Linked DNA regions of Homo sapiens: all the other regions are linked to region 5. Evidence: promoter capture Hi-C in 16 types of primary human blood cells and fetal thymus (Javierre and others, 2016). All regions are on one chromosome and are shown on one strand. Each heading gives the region's core, a stretch centred on a gene start or on the middle of the fragment in contact. The rest is flanking DNA. Distances are from core to core; before and after follow the strand shown. Region 1 holds the start of ATF1 (activating transcription factor 1). Region 2 holds the start of DIP2B (disco interacting protein 2 homolog B). Region 3 overlaps ATF1 (activating transcription factor 1). Region 4 overlaps ATF1 (activating transcription factor 1). Region 5 holds the start of CELA1 (chymotrypsin like elastase 1).

Region 1 (2,700 bases), core at 82-2,581, 580 kb after region 5:
GGACAGATAGCTCACAGACCAAACCTAACCCTAAAAGATAACGGCAAGTATTAAAGAGCTAATACATTCGACTTTAGGGCAACAGTATTGATTCTAATTAAGACACGGAGATAACTGCATATGATAAACTCCAAGAAAAAAGAGCATTTTAGAAGAACGCATTTCTGTTAACAAAAACCTCAGGTTAAAATGCATTCTGAGACATAAATGCCTACGAACTCATCACAGGTGAGGCCAGTTTGACAAAGATGCCTGCCAGATCCACGCCGAGCTTCTGAACCCTAAAGGTTCTCAAAGACTACCAGTTGCCCAATCTCTTCAAAACACTAGCGCCACAACCAGACATTATTTCACATTGCAATCATTTCAAAGCGATTCAGCCGCCAGCTGCACGGCGTCGATCAAAGTGAGAAATGCCAGGCTTCGTTTTTTGACATACAAGATCAAAGAGAAAGTCACCCTCGGCTGGGTCGCCCATCCCAAAGGGTACAGACGCCCTTGTGTCATTCCTAGCCAGGGGTAAAGCCGCCTACTGTCCCCACTCTGTCTCCGCTGCCAGGCGCATCTCTCCAGGACTGTCTGGGGCGTGCGCAATGCCCGTGCGTCGGTTGCCCGCTAGACTGCAAGCTCCAGGAGGGTAAGGGGCGCGCCTCTTCCCTCAGGGTCGCCAGCGCCGACGCGCTTCGAGGACCCTGTCGCGGGGTTAACCAGACCCGGGCTCCGCTCGGCGGACACCGCGCCGAGGCCATATCCGCGCCGCCCTCCGCCCGGCTCCGGGCCCAACCTCGAGACCTCCCACGGAGAGCTAGCGCCTGCGACTGCAAAGGGCGGCTTCTGAGGCGAAAGCCACCCCGCGGCGGGCGGTTTCGGGCTTTACTTTTATTTGGGGGCGAGGGAAAGGAGGAGACGCACGACTGGAAGGGCGCAGCGCAGCTCTGCACCGAGGCGCGGAGGCCGGAAGCGCGGGCGGCCCCTCCCCCTGCCGCTGCGCCCCTCCCCCACCGCCACCACCGCGCGCGACCCCCACCAGGCGCGCGACCCGCGCTGCGTCCCCGCCGGCGCCACGTTCCCGCGTCCTTCCCCGCCCGGGCCACGGGGCACGTCCCTCCCCGCCCCCCACTTACCTGTGGCTGCCGCCTCGCCGCTCTCCGGGGCGGGAACTTCCACTCCCCCCTCCCAGGTAGATCCGAATTCACTACCCACTTCCCCACCCCCTCACGCAGCGGGGGACAAGCCTCCTTCTCGGGGGTCAGGCGGGGCGGGGAGAATCAGTGTCACTTAACAGCCAACTGTCCTAAGCTACCGTTTCCTCGGCAGTCAGGGCCGCTACTGGCGGCATGATCTACACAAGCCTGGGGGCGGGGGCGGGGGCGGGGGAGGGGAGGGGGGCAAAACTGAGCACTAGTGTGCGTTTGGGGTAGGCTATGGCGCTGCCTCCGCGCGGGCCGCCGTCCTGCGTCACCGCGCTGCCCACGTGACGCGCCGCCATCTTGTACGCGGTCCTGACTTGTGGCTAGGGGTTCCTCGGAACGCGTTCCTCAGGCTGCAGCGGGAGAGGGACGGTGCCTGCGGTTCCGTTTCTCCTTAGGAGCTGTACCCCACCCGCCCTACGTCCGCTTCCGGAGGCCATGAGCAGCTGGGTGCTCGCGGGGGGCGTTTTCATCGATTAGTGGCGGCGCTGTCAACTCACCTGCCAATTGACCTTGACCGACGCCGGCCCTGTCCTCTTGGAAGGAGAAATGAAGAGTGAAGGCTTTGACTTCCTCAGCTTTTTTTTTTTTTTTTTTTTTTTAGATGGAGTCTCTTTTTTTTTTCCGAGATTGAGACGGGGGTCTGTGGCCCAGGCTGTAGTGCAGTGGTTCGATCTCGACTCACTGCAGCCTCCAACCCCGGGATTCAAGCGATTCTCCAACCTCAGCCTATGGGGCAGCTGGGACCACAGGCGCGCGCTACCACGCTCGGCTTGAAGAGATGAGGACTCTATGTTGCTCAGGCTGGTCTTGAACTCCTGGGCTCAAGTGATCCTCCGCCTCGGCCTCTCAAAGTTCTGGGATTACAGGCGTGAGCCACCGTGCCCGGCCTTACTCAGATTTTTCTTAATCCCATAAAGTAACAATGAGTTGTGTCCTTTAACCCATGTGGAAGGATTTTCTACAGAAACGGATTTACAATGAGACATAACGATGTGGCCGGGCGCGGTGGCTCATGCCTGTAATCCCAGCACTTTGGGAGGCCCAGGAGGGCGGATCACCTGAGATCGGGAGTTCGAAACCAGCCTGACCAACATGGAGAAACCCCGTCTCTACTAAAAAATACAAAAGTAGCCGGGTGTGGTGGCGAATGCCTGTAATCCAAGCTACTTGGGAGGCTGAGGCAGGAGAATCGCTTGAACCCGGGAGGCGGAGGTTGCGGTGAGCCGAGATCGCACCGTTGCACTCCAGCCTGGGCAACAAGAGCAAAACTGTCTCAAAAAAAAAGAAAAAAGAAACGTAACAGAGTGTTAATAAAATGTTATGCCGTCATTTTAATGCATTACAAAAACTTCAGAATATTTTTGGGTCTACCTCTCTGGAAGGGAGTTATGCCTTATTCTTAATTTTTAAAATTTCCTTGTAAAATGCTGTTTTATGGCTTTAATGATAGTAAACGACAAAAGATAAACTTTTTTAGTATGCTCTTGACAAAAGTTCCGAAAGTTTT
Region 2 (2,700 bases), core at 64-2,563, 840 kb after region 5:
CTAGTGAAGAGGGCCTTCCACAAGGAACTCAGTAAGAATATGCAACTCTGGAGACACAATCAAAGTACTGGTATCAAGCTTGGAGAAAATGCTGCTTTTGTCTCAGGGGCAGCCAGTGATAAAAACAGGAACTTTACACAGAACTGATCACAACTGCCCCAGAAGCCTGATCACATGCCCACAACGGAGCACTGTGTTTCTCTCATTGTTGTACAAGGAGTTCTCTAATAACAGTGGCTTGATTTATCCCATTTTTTTTTTTTAATTCTGAAAATAAATCGAACCCTCCCTGTCCCAATCCATTGTCAAAAGAAAGAATGCCAGCCAGGATTTGCAAGTAAACGGTAGCCTCCTCTCCTTCCTTCATCAAAGACTCCAAAAGGTGACCAGATGCGGAAAATTCGGCCCGAATAACAGGCACCAGGAAAAAAAAAAACTTCTTATGACAAAGGTGGTCTAAAAGCAGCACCGTGTGTCTCTCTGGGTTAATGCCATTGCTTCTTATCTTCCTAGGACCCTAAATGGCTCACCCGCTTGTGTCTCACTCCTGTCACTGGGGAGGCATCGCGCATTGTTAAAGGAAAGAGAAGAAATGATGCTGCGGATTTCCCATGTGTCTCTTTTTGAAAGGGGGAAGGGGGGGCTGGAACAAGGCGTGGAGCCCTCCACGAAAAGGGGAGAGGAAAGGAGAAAGCTGTCAGCCACCCTCCTCGCAGCCCTACCCCTCACCCCACCTGGGCCAGACGCCTGGGCAGAAGCGGGAGGGCGCAGCTTTGTCTCGGGTTTTGGGGGGCAGGAAGCGCAGAAGCAGTGTGGGCCCGGGAGGACCTTTCCACAAGCCCTTACTTAGTCCCCTCCATGGGAAAACAATGAAAGCCACAGGAAACCACTTAATGGGGTGGGAGAGGAGGGAAAACGGTCGTGGAGCGCCAGGCCAGGTTCTCTACACCCTCGTCCCCCTCGCCGCACGGCCGCCAGAGCGCGCGGCGGGGACCTGTCTCCCAAGTCGCCGCGATCCGCAGGGCCCCGGGCGCCCTCTCCCCGGCCCGGCTCCTACCCTCCGAGAGCTCCAGCTCCAGCTCCGCCAGCTGCGCCCGCACTTCAGGCGGCAGCGCCGCCACCGCGGCCGGCGACGGCTCCAGGCCTCGTTCCGCCATCCCAGCTCCGCCAGCCACACTCCGGAAGACAAGAGAGGGGGCCGAAGGAGGGACGGACAGACACGGGCCCACACCCGGCTACAGGATCCGGCTCCGGCCGCCGAGCACCACCAGCACCGCCGCCGCCGCCGCCGCCGCCATGAGCAAAGGTCACGTGAGCGCGACGGCCCCCGCCCCCCGGCCAGGAGGACGCACCGCCTCTCCAGCCCAGTCAGGCTGAAGACGCATATGCTTACGGCGCCCTCTACTGGGAAGCTACCAGAACGACGGGCCCAAGCCCACCACTCGAATTTCCCTGCGCGAAATGGGCTCATGGTATGGACTGTCGGCTTTACCACAGTAGTGTGGACACATAGCATTTACCTTTCACTCTCGAGCAAGTTTTTAGGGGTCCCAGGCCTTACTTTTTCCAATACTAGACTTAGCAATGTATGTCTATCGTGTCCTTTACTCCATTTTCCCTGATTAATACCTGCCCATTTATAAAAACCTAATCACAGGCCACCTCCTTCGCTGTGGCTCCTGGTCCTATCTGCCAGGAGCTCTGTTTCCGTTTCAGTTTTAGCTTTTAAAAAGACAGGCGCGGTGGCTCTCGCCTGTAATCCTAGCACTTTGGGAGGCTGAGGCTGGTGGATCACCTGAGGTTAAGAGTACCAGGCTAGCCGACCGGGCGCGGTGGCTCACGCCTGTAATCCCAGCACTTTGGGAGGCCGAGACGGGTGGATCACGAAGTCAGGAGATCGAGACCATCCTGGCTGACACGGTGAAACCCCGTCTCTACTAAAAGTACAAAAAATTAGCCGGGCGTGGTGGCGGGCGCCTGTAGTCCCAGCTACTCGGGAGGCTGAGGCAGGAGAATGGCGTGAACCCGGGAGGCGGAGCTTGCAGTGAGCCAAGATCACGCCACTGCACTCCAGCCTGAGCGTGAGCGCGAGACTCCGACTCAAAAAAAAAAAAAAAAGAGTACTAGGCCAGCCTGGCCAACATGGTGAAACCCCGTCTCCAATAAAAATACAAAAATTAGCCGGGCGTGGTGGCGGATGCCTGTACTCCTAGCTACTCAAGAGGCTGAGGCAGGAGAATCACTTGAACCCAGGAGGCAGAGGTTACAGTAAGCTGAGATCGCGTCATTGCACTCCAGCCCGGGCAAGAGAGCAAACACTCCGTCTAAAGAAAAGAAAAAGACAATAGAGAGCAGGTCCACTTCTTTCTTTCTATACTTCTAACTACTTACAAGGAGGGAACTTACTTTAACTCATCCTCCTCACTCTGTGGCCTAATAGGTGTTCCAAAAACATTAATTTTAATTTAATATGAAGAGGGTCCAAGGCTAGGTGCAGTGGCTCACACCTATGATCCCAGCACTTTGGGAGGCCAAGGTGGGCGGATCACCTGAGGTCAAGAGTTCGAGACCAGCCTGGCCAACATGGCGAAACCCCGTCTCTACTAAAAACACAAAAATTAGCCGGGAGTAGTGGCACATGCCTGTAATCCCAGCTACCTGGGGGAGCTGAGGTAGGAACGTCGCTTGAACCCGGGAGGC
Region 3 (2,700 bases), core at 122-2,621, 570 kb after region 5:
AGAGGCAGAGGTTGCAGTGAGCCAAGATCGCACCACTGCACTCCAGTCTGGGCGACAGAGCAAGACTCCGTCTCAAAAAAAAAAAAAAAAAAAAGGCTGGCCACAGTGGCTCACACCTATAATCCCAGCACTTTGGGATGCTGAGGATCACTTGAGCCCAGGAGTTTGACACCAGCCTGGGCAACATAGTGAGACTCTGTCTCTACTAAAAAAAAAAAAAAAAAAAAGGCCGGGTGTGGTGGCTCAGGCCTGTAATCCTAGCACTTTGGAAGGCTGAGGCGGGTGGATCACGAGGTCAGGAGATCAAGACCATCCTGGCTAACACGATGAAACCCTGTCTCTAGTAAAAATACAAAAAATTAGCCGGGCGTGGTGGCGGGCGCCTGTAGTCCCAGCTACTCGGGAGGCTGAGGCAGGAGAATGGCGTGAACCTGGAAGGCGGAGGTTGCAGTGAGCCGAGATCGCGCCACTGCACTCCAGCCTGGGCGACAGAGCGAGACACTGTCTCAAAAAACAAACAAACAAATAAACAAACAAACAAAAAAAACAGAAAAAGAAAACAGCTGAAATCTCTTATCTGATTCTACATTAATTATGTTATCATACATTGTTTTGGTTGAATTATATGAAGAAAATCTGCCCTCACATAGATATGCAATTAGAAAAGATGTGTAGTGTTTTAAAAGCCTTTTCATTTCATTGTATTCTTTGATACAGCAGCAAAACTCAGCAAGTTATAGTTTCTTAAAGGTTATTTGCCATGTACAGTCTGAACTTTGTGTATTGTTAACATTAAAATCCGTTAGTCTCATCTTGCACTTTAAATGGCTCTTACACTCATGCATGATTTTTTTTTTTTTTTTTTTGGAGATAGGGTCTCACTCTGTCACCCAGGCTGGAGTGCAGTGGCATGATTATAGCTCACTGCTGCCTTGAACTCCTGGGCTCAAACAATCCTCCTGCTTCAGCCAAGTAGCTGTTACTACAGGTGTTGTAGTGCCACCACACCCAGCTAATTTTTAAAATTTTTTGGCCGGGCACGGTGGCTCACGCCTGTAATCCCAGCATTTTGGGAGGCTGAGGTGGGTGGATCACCTGAGGTCAGGAGTTTGAGACCAGTCTGGCCAACAGGTGAAACCCCGTCTCTACCAAAAATACAAAAAATTAGCTGGGTGTGGTGGTGGGCGCCTGTAATCCCAGCTACTCGGGAGGCTGAAGCAGGAGAATCGTTTGAACCCGGGAGGCGGAGGTTGTAGTGACCCGAGATCGTACCACTGCACTCCAGCCTGAGCGACAGAGCGAAACCCTGCCTTGAAAAACAAAAACAAAAACAAAGAAAACAACTCTAAATACAGTTAGGCCTCTTTATTCATGGGTTCTGCATCCATGAGTTTCACATCTGTGGATTCAACCAACCACAGATTGAAAATATTCAGGAAAAAAAATTTCTCTATACTGAACATGTACCGACTGTTTTTCTTGTCATATAGTATAACTATTCACATAGCATTTACATAGTATTAGGTATTAAAAGTAATCTAGAAATGATTTAAAGTATACAGGAAAATATGTAGGTTATATATAAATACCATGCCGTTTTCTATCAGGGGCTTTAAGCATCACAGATCTTGGTATCTGTGGACGTCCTGGAACCAGTCTCCCACAGATACTGAGAGATGACTATATACTTCGTTTAAAAGAAAATAAAACTAAATGATCTTGACAAGATATTTAAAGTCCACCTTCTTTTCTTATATTTTAACATTTTATACAGTCTTTTTTGCTTGTTTTTCTATTTTATTTTTTATTTATTTATTTTTATGATATGGAGTCTCGTTCTATTGCCCAGGCTGGAGTGCAGTGGCATAGTCTGTGCTCACTGCAACCTCCACCTCCCAGGCTCAAGCGATTCTCCTGCCTCAGCCTCCCGAGCAGCTGGGATTACAGGCAACCGCCACTGCACCTGGCTAATTTTTGATTTTTATTAGAGACAGGGTTTCGCCATGTTGGTCAGGCTAGTCTTGAACTCTTGACCTCGTGATCCGCCCGCCCTGACTTCCCAAAGTGCTAGGATTACAGGCGTGAGCCACTGCGCCTGGCCTTTGCTTGTTTTGTTTTTTTTTTTTTTTAACATTAATGCCAGGTCTGGTGGCTCACACCTGTAATCCCAGCATTTTGGGAGGCCAAGGTGGGTGGGTTACCTGCGGTCAGGAGTTCGAGACCAGCCTGGCCAACATGGTAAAACCCCATCTCTACTAAAAATACAAAAAATAGCCAGGCGTGGTGGCAGATGCCTGTAGTCCCAGCTACTTGGGAGGCTGCGGTAGGAGAATTGTTTGAACCCAGGAGGTGGAGGTTGCAGTGAGCCGAGATCATGCCACTGCACTCCAGCCTGGGCAACTAGAGCAAAAATCTGCCTCGAAAAAAAAAACCCAAAAAACAAAAACCAAAATAAAACACATTAATAATCAGTCTGAAACGAGATTAATCTGCATATAAAATATTCCTAACAAGCTCAGTATTTTGGCCAGTCCCTCCCTTACCTGTTGAGCAATATGAGAAATGTGAGCTCCCTGAACTGCTGAACCAGGTTGAGGTGCTGTCTCTGACGTGGTACTCTTGTGGGAATCTTCCATAATCAACTATAAGGGGGAAAAAAGTCCGTTAAAATTAAATATGATACAGAATGTTTACAGTATA
Region 4 (2,723 bases), core at 97-2,596, 530 kb after region 5:
ATGGCAAAACCTCATCTCTACTAAAAATACAAAAATTAGCTGTGGTGGCACATGCCTGTAATCCCAGCTACTTGGGAGTCTGACCCAGGAGGATCACTTGAAGCTGGGAGGTGGAGGTTGCAGTGAGCCAAGATCGCGCCACTGCACTCCACCCTGGGCAACAGAGCAAGACTCTGTCTCAGAAAAAGAAAGAAAGAAAGAAACAGTACTATTTTAAGATTTTTATGCTATATATGTAGATACTATTTGCAACTTGCTTTTTAGTACACATCTTTAAAAGGACTGTACAAAATCTTTCCCCTCACAAAAAGACTTTATTTTTACCTTTAAGCTCTGTTTGTTTGTTTGTTTTAAGTGGTTTCCAGTAAACATTCTTTTTCTTTTTTCTTCTTTTGTTTTGAGACAGGGTCTCACTCTGTCAACCAGGCTGAGTGCAGTGGCACAATCACAGCTCATTGCAACCTTGACCTCCTGGACTCAAGATATCCCCACTTCAGCCTCTCAAGTAGCTGGGACTACAGGTGTACACCACCACACCAGCTAATTTTATTTTTGTAGAGATGAGGTCTCAGTATGTTGCCTAGGCTGGTCTCACTCCTGGTCACGGTGTCGGGATTATGGGCATGAGCCACCCACTCAGCCTCCATTCTTTACGTGTATTTCTACACATGTATTTCTTGAAGGATCACAAGCTATATTCACTTAAAGTCAAGAGATAGTGCCAATTTATATTCATTGAAGTACAGAGAAATAAGGGGGGAAAAAAGGAAGGAAAAAAATCCCAGAGTCAAACCAGAAAGAAAAAAGGGAAAAAATGCCAGAATGTCCTCCAGAGTATTTGTACCATTTACATTCCCAGGGGCAGTACATGAGAGTGCCTGTTATGAACATTTTAAAATGGTTGTCAGTCTAGCGGCTGACAAAAAGCGAACCTCACTGCTTTAACATTTCCCTCATTATGCACAAAGTTTGGAATAATTTCATGTTTACAAGGCCATCTTTCACAGACCGGTTTCCTTCTGTTAGGTCTCTTATTTACAGAAATAAATCTTTATATAACCTATACATCTCGTAATTCTTTCTCTTTATATAAAAGTTGCAAATATTTTTCCCAGTTAACAGACTTATTTTTAAGTTTCTTTATGGTATCTTTTGTCACATACAAGTAGAAATGTTGGGGCAAGTAGATACCATAAAACTCCGTACTTCCCTCAGTAATGTATGTGAGGTACCCTTTTCCTTATATGCCCAATGACAGACAGTATTACCACTTTATAATTTTTGCTACGTGACATCTCATTTCTTATTTTTATAGTTGTAGTATATACGTATATGACCCTAAAACTGCTATCATTTATTTTCTAAAATTATAAAATATCATACTTTGTGTATTCTGTTGCAACTTGTTTTTTCATTCAATTTTTCTAAGATTTATTCATGTTGAAATGATTATTCATTCAGTCATTACAAATAAACATTCCATTCTATAAATACAGTCACAATTTATGTACCTATTCTTTTTTCCCCCCATTTTTATGTTTAGGCTCAATATGTACCTATTCTGTTATCAATGAATCTTGAGGTTGTTTCCTGATTTTTTGCTGCTATGAAAATTCTTATACATACTTCCTCCAAGTTCCTCTCAGTCACACAGACTAAAACAGCTGGGTCACAGAGTATACCCACGTCAACTGTACAAGATAAGGCCTAATTTCCAAAATGGCTGCATCAATTTACACTCCTATAGTAGTATCTATGAATTCCTGACCATTGTTCCAAATCCTTGCCAACTCTTGGTTAGACTTTAAAATTTTTGCCAATTGGGTGGGTATAAAGGGTATCTAAATGTGTAGCATTAATGTGTATTTCTTTGATTACTAATAAGGCTGAGTAGTCTTTTATATGATTATTAACTACTTGTGTGTTTTTTTTTGTTTGTTTTATTTTTGAGACAAGAGTCTTGCTCTGTTGCCCAGGCTGAAGTACAATGGCGTGATCATGGCTCACTGCAACCTCTGCCTCCAGGTTCAAGTGATTCTCCTGCCTCTACCACATCTAGCTAATGTTTTAAATTTTTTTTAGAGATGGGGTCTCCCTATATTGCCCAGGCTGGTCTCAAACTCCTGGGCTCAAGTGATCCTCCTGCCTTGGCCTCCGAAAATGCTGGGATTACACGTGTGAGCCACCACGCCTGGCCTGTATGGTTTTTTCCATTAAAATGTTTCTGTGCATATTTATGGAGCACATGAGAAAATCTGTTACATGTATATAATGTGTAGCGATCAAGTCAGGGGATTCAGGGTGTCCATCACCTGAGTATTAATAGGTTTTTGTTAAGGGTGGTCATCCTACTCTGCTATGAAACACTGAATTTATTCCTTTTATCTTACTGTGTATGGGTTTGTACCCTTTAACTCTCTTCATCCTCCTCCTTGCCCCTCACCGTTCCCAGTCTCTGTTACCTATTTTTCCATTCTCTCTTTTTTCTTGAGATAGGGTCTTGCTCTGTTGCCCAGGCTGAAGTGCAGTGGTGCGATCATGCTGCCTCAACCCCCTGGGCTCAAGCAATCCTCCCACCTCAGCCTCCCGAGTAGCTGGGATTTTAGGCACACGCCACCATGCCTGGCTAATTTTTTATCTTTTGTAGCAATGGGTATGTTGCCCAGGCTTGCATTGAACTCCTAGGCTCAAGTGATCCTCCCGCCTCGGCCTCCCAAAGTGCT
Region 5 (2,700 bases), core at 136-2,635:
TGCAACTCTTTTCTCTCTCTATTTATTTATTTATTTATTTATTTATTTATTTATTTATTTATTTATTTTGAGACAGAGTCTTGCTCTGTCTCCAGGCTGGAGTGCAGCAACCTCCGCTTCCCAGGTTGAAGCGATTCTCCTGCCTCAGCCTCCAGATTAGCTGGGACTGCAGAAGCGCACCACCATGCCCAGCTAATTTTTGTATTTTGTTTTTGTTTTTTTTTAGATGGAGTCTCGCTCTGTCGCCCAGGTTGGAGTGCAGTGGCGCGATCTCGGCTCACTGCAAGCTCCGCCTCCCGGGCTCACGCCATTCTCCTGCCTGCGCCTCCCGAGGAGCTGGGACTACAGGCGCCTGCCACCACGCCCAGCTAATTTTTTGTATTTTTTTAGTAGAGACGGGGTTTCACTGTGTTAGCCAGAGTAGTCTCAATCTCCTGACCTCGTGATCCGCCCGCCTCCGACTCCCAAAGTGCTGGGATTACAGGCATGAGCCACCGCGCCCGGCCAATTTTTGTATTTTTAGTAGACGGGGTTTCGCCATGTTGGCCAGGATGGTCTCGATCTCTTGATCTTGTGATCCGCCCGCCTCAGCCTCCCAAAGTGCTGGGATTACAGGCGTAAACCACCGCGCCCGGCCGCAACTCCCTTCTCTCTCCTCTACGAACTGTGATGAACAAAGCCTTTCATCTCCTGCAGGAACCTCGGCTCCTACCCTCGTTCTCCCTCTGCCCTCCACCCTCCATCTACCCTCATAGCCCTCAGACTGTCTTCACATCCCAAGGATCCCCTCCTCTACCCTGCCTCATATTCTCCTCTGGGAGCCCCTTCTTGGCTCTCCATCTGAGAGGGCCCAAGCCTGTTTCTCAGTACTTTCCTCCCCCAGAATTATCTCCACTGCATCTATTTGGCTTTTGTGTCTGCATTTACACCTATGCCTGCATCCTGGGGGCATGTGCCATCTCCCTCTTTGGGCAGAGAGAGTTGCTGTGTCTTCCTTGCCCTTGCTAACCACTCCCCCCTCTTCCACTATCCCCCTGGCCTCCAGCTGCTAGTGCACAGGGCAAGTCTCTGCATTTATGGTGCCACTGAGGACAACGAGAGAGTGATGGATGACAAGGGGTGCTCCCTTAGAGAAAAACCAGCCCTGGTTCTCCATCTTATTTCTGAAAAAGAGTTTGTTGGATGCTTTTCAATTAAAAGCAGATGATTAATTCAGCCCTGGCCTTGTTCTGTCTTTGAATAACAGATACATTAGTTTACTTGAAAAGAAATATTTTCATTTGTATTTCCATGTCACTTGTGATTTTCCCTGCCTTGCACCCTCAGCCCTGCCAGTTGGCAAGAAGACAGTCAGCTTTGCTGCTAAGAGGAGTATAAAGAGGGCTTGGTCCAAGCAAGAAGGCAGTGGTCTACTCCATCGGCAACATGCTGGTCCTTTATGGTAAGTGGATATGGTCCAGTCGCAACCCTGGTCCTTTATGGTAAGTGGATCATGTGGCCTGAGGTCTATAGGGAGGGGGACTTGGGCAGGAAGGTCAGCAAATTTTCCCTAAGTCCAGGCCAGCACCCTGTCCCAGGGCAGGTGGGACGCTCTGCCTGCAGAGCGTCCTTTACTCTCCTGGAGGCCAAGATAGAAAAGGTCAGGGCCACTGGCTATTCAGGCCCCTCTGGGTGGCAGGTCCCTGGGCCACAAAGCAGAGAGAAGCCCCATCTGGTAGTGGGGTGGGTCCCTGGGCTTCCCCACCACCCCCATTGACAGGAGGACTTCCTCAGCAGGTGCCTGGCTGGGGTGTGCACTGCAGGCCCTGAACCCTGGAGAATCTTGCCAAAGCATTAGGGGGCTGGTGGGGGTCAAAGAGTGGGGGGGGGTCTCTTCAGGCCAAAGGGTGATCTTGAGCAAAGAGGAGACCACAAGGAGCCTCTGGGGCCTAGCCTGGTGGTTTGAGAGAGGTCCTTCATAGCATGCCGGAGTTCTGGGAACACCTGGGGGAAACAGAAGGCACCCAGGCACCCCTGTTTTCAAAAGGGGCTCAGAGAACTCACAGCTGGGCCCCTCATTCGTTAGAGAGGAACTGTGAATTTGCAGACAAGGCTAACATTCCTCAAAGCACAATCGCCACCCCCCACCCCTACCCCTGGCTGACCCCATGCTTAGTCATCACTCACTTTTCTTCTGCCCCACAAAGGACACAGCACCCAGGACCTTCCGGAAACCAATGCCCGCGTAGTCGGAGGGACTGAGGCCGGGAGGAATTCCTGGCCCTCTCAGGTGGGTGTTCCTTCCCAGCCCCAGACTTCCACCCAAATAAGAGCTCAGTGCATGACATAAGGTATCATGTGTATTTGTGCATGTCCCTATCAACAAGCAGCTCTCCAATTGTCTAGGTTCTCGATTTTAAAGATGGATGGGATCAGGCTTAGGTGGTTTTCTAAATGCAAAAGGCTTGGAGGAGGGGATTTATACACCAACCACAGTCCCTCTTCAAGGCACACACCCAAACACAAGATACATTTATATTCTCAGCGACAGCACTTGTGCCACGCAAGAAAGACTGGGTGCCAGACAGTCACCTTGGACTCCACATACCTTGAAACTCACACGCACACCACTCCACACTGTGTGTGTCACAATGCTTGCACGCATGTGCGCGCACACACACACACACACACGTACAGCATGCTGCTTAGTTGGCTATTTAG

What was found. Contacts are between HindIII fragments. The CHiCAGO score rates a contact against its expected background, and 5 or more counts as called.
Region 1: the fragment with the promoter of ATF1 here is called in contact with the fragment with the promoter of CELA1 in region 5 in 8 of 17 cell types (neutrophils, endothelial precursors, fetal thymus and 5 more); the score reaches 11.1 in neutrophils.
Region 2: the fragment with the promoter of DIP2B here is called in contact with the fragment with the promoter of CELA1 in region 5 in 1 of 17 cell types (fetal thymus); the score reaches 6.0 in fetal thymus.
Region 3: a contact is called between a fragment that was not itself captured here and the fragment with the promoter of CELA1 in region 5, in 2 of 17 cell types (M2 macrophages and activated CD4 T cells). The highest score is 5.8, in M2 macrophages.
Region 4: a fragment that was not itself captured here is called in contact with the fragment with the promoter of CELA1 in region 5 in 6 of 17 cell types (activated CD4 T cells, total CD4 T cells, total B cells and 3 more); the score reaches 7.6 in activated CD4 T cells.

What each region holds. Positions count from the first base shown.
Region 1 is chr12:50,762,732-50,765,431 of GRCh38, reverse strand. It overlaps ATF1 (activating transcription factor 1), which reads right to left and starts at 1,331. Exons shown (of 7, transcript NM_005171.5): 1 at 1,125-1,331. RefSeq lists an enhancer at 468-567 and silencers at 988-1,077, 1,298-1,377. The HindIII fragment of the contact is 10,692 bases long and covers 1-2,700 here.
Region 2 is chr12:50,503,598-50,506,297 of GRCh38, reverse strand. It overlaps DIP2B (disco interacting protein 2 homolog B), which reads right to left and starts at 1,313. Exons shown (of 38, transcript NM_173602.3): 1 at 1,058-1,313. The coding sequence starts at 1,157. RefSeq lists a silencer at 901-1,010. The HindIII fragment of the contact is 3,121 bases long and covers 81-2,700 here.
Region 3 is chr12:50,780,082-50,782,781 of GRCh38, reverse strand. It overlaps ATF1 (activating transcription factor 1), which reads right to left. Exons shown (of 7, transcript NM_005171.5): 2 at 2,544-2,642. The coding sequence starts at 2,636. Among named protein-coding and RNA genes, the nearest start is that of ATF1, 17 kb to the right of the region's middle. The HindIII fragment of the contact is 3,767 bases long and covers 1-2,700 here.
Region 4 is chr12:50,816,085-50,818,807 of GRCh38, reverse strand. All of the region lies in intron 6 of ATF1 (activating transcription factor 1), which reads right to left. Among named protein-coding and RNA genes, the nearest start is that of TMPRSS12, 25 kb to the left of the region's middle. The HindIII fragment of the contact is 4,813 bases long and covers 1-2,723 here.
Region 5 is chr12:51,345,364-51,348,063 of GRCh38, reverse strand. CELA1 (chymotrypsin like elastase 1) reads left to right here and starts at 1,385. Exons shown (of 8, transcript NM_001971.6): 1 at 1,385-1,441; 2 at 2,187-2,269. The coding sequence starts at 1,426. The HindIII fragment of the contact is 4,543 bases long and covers 1-2,700 here.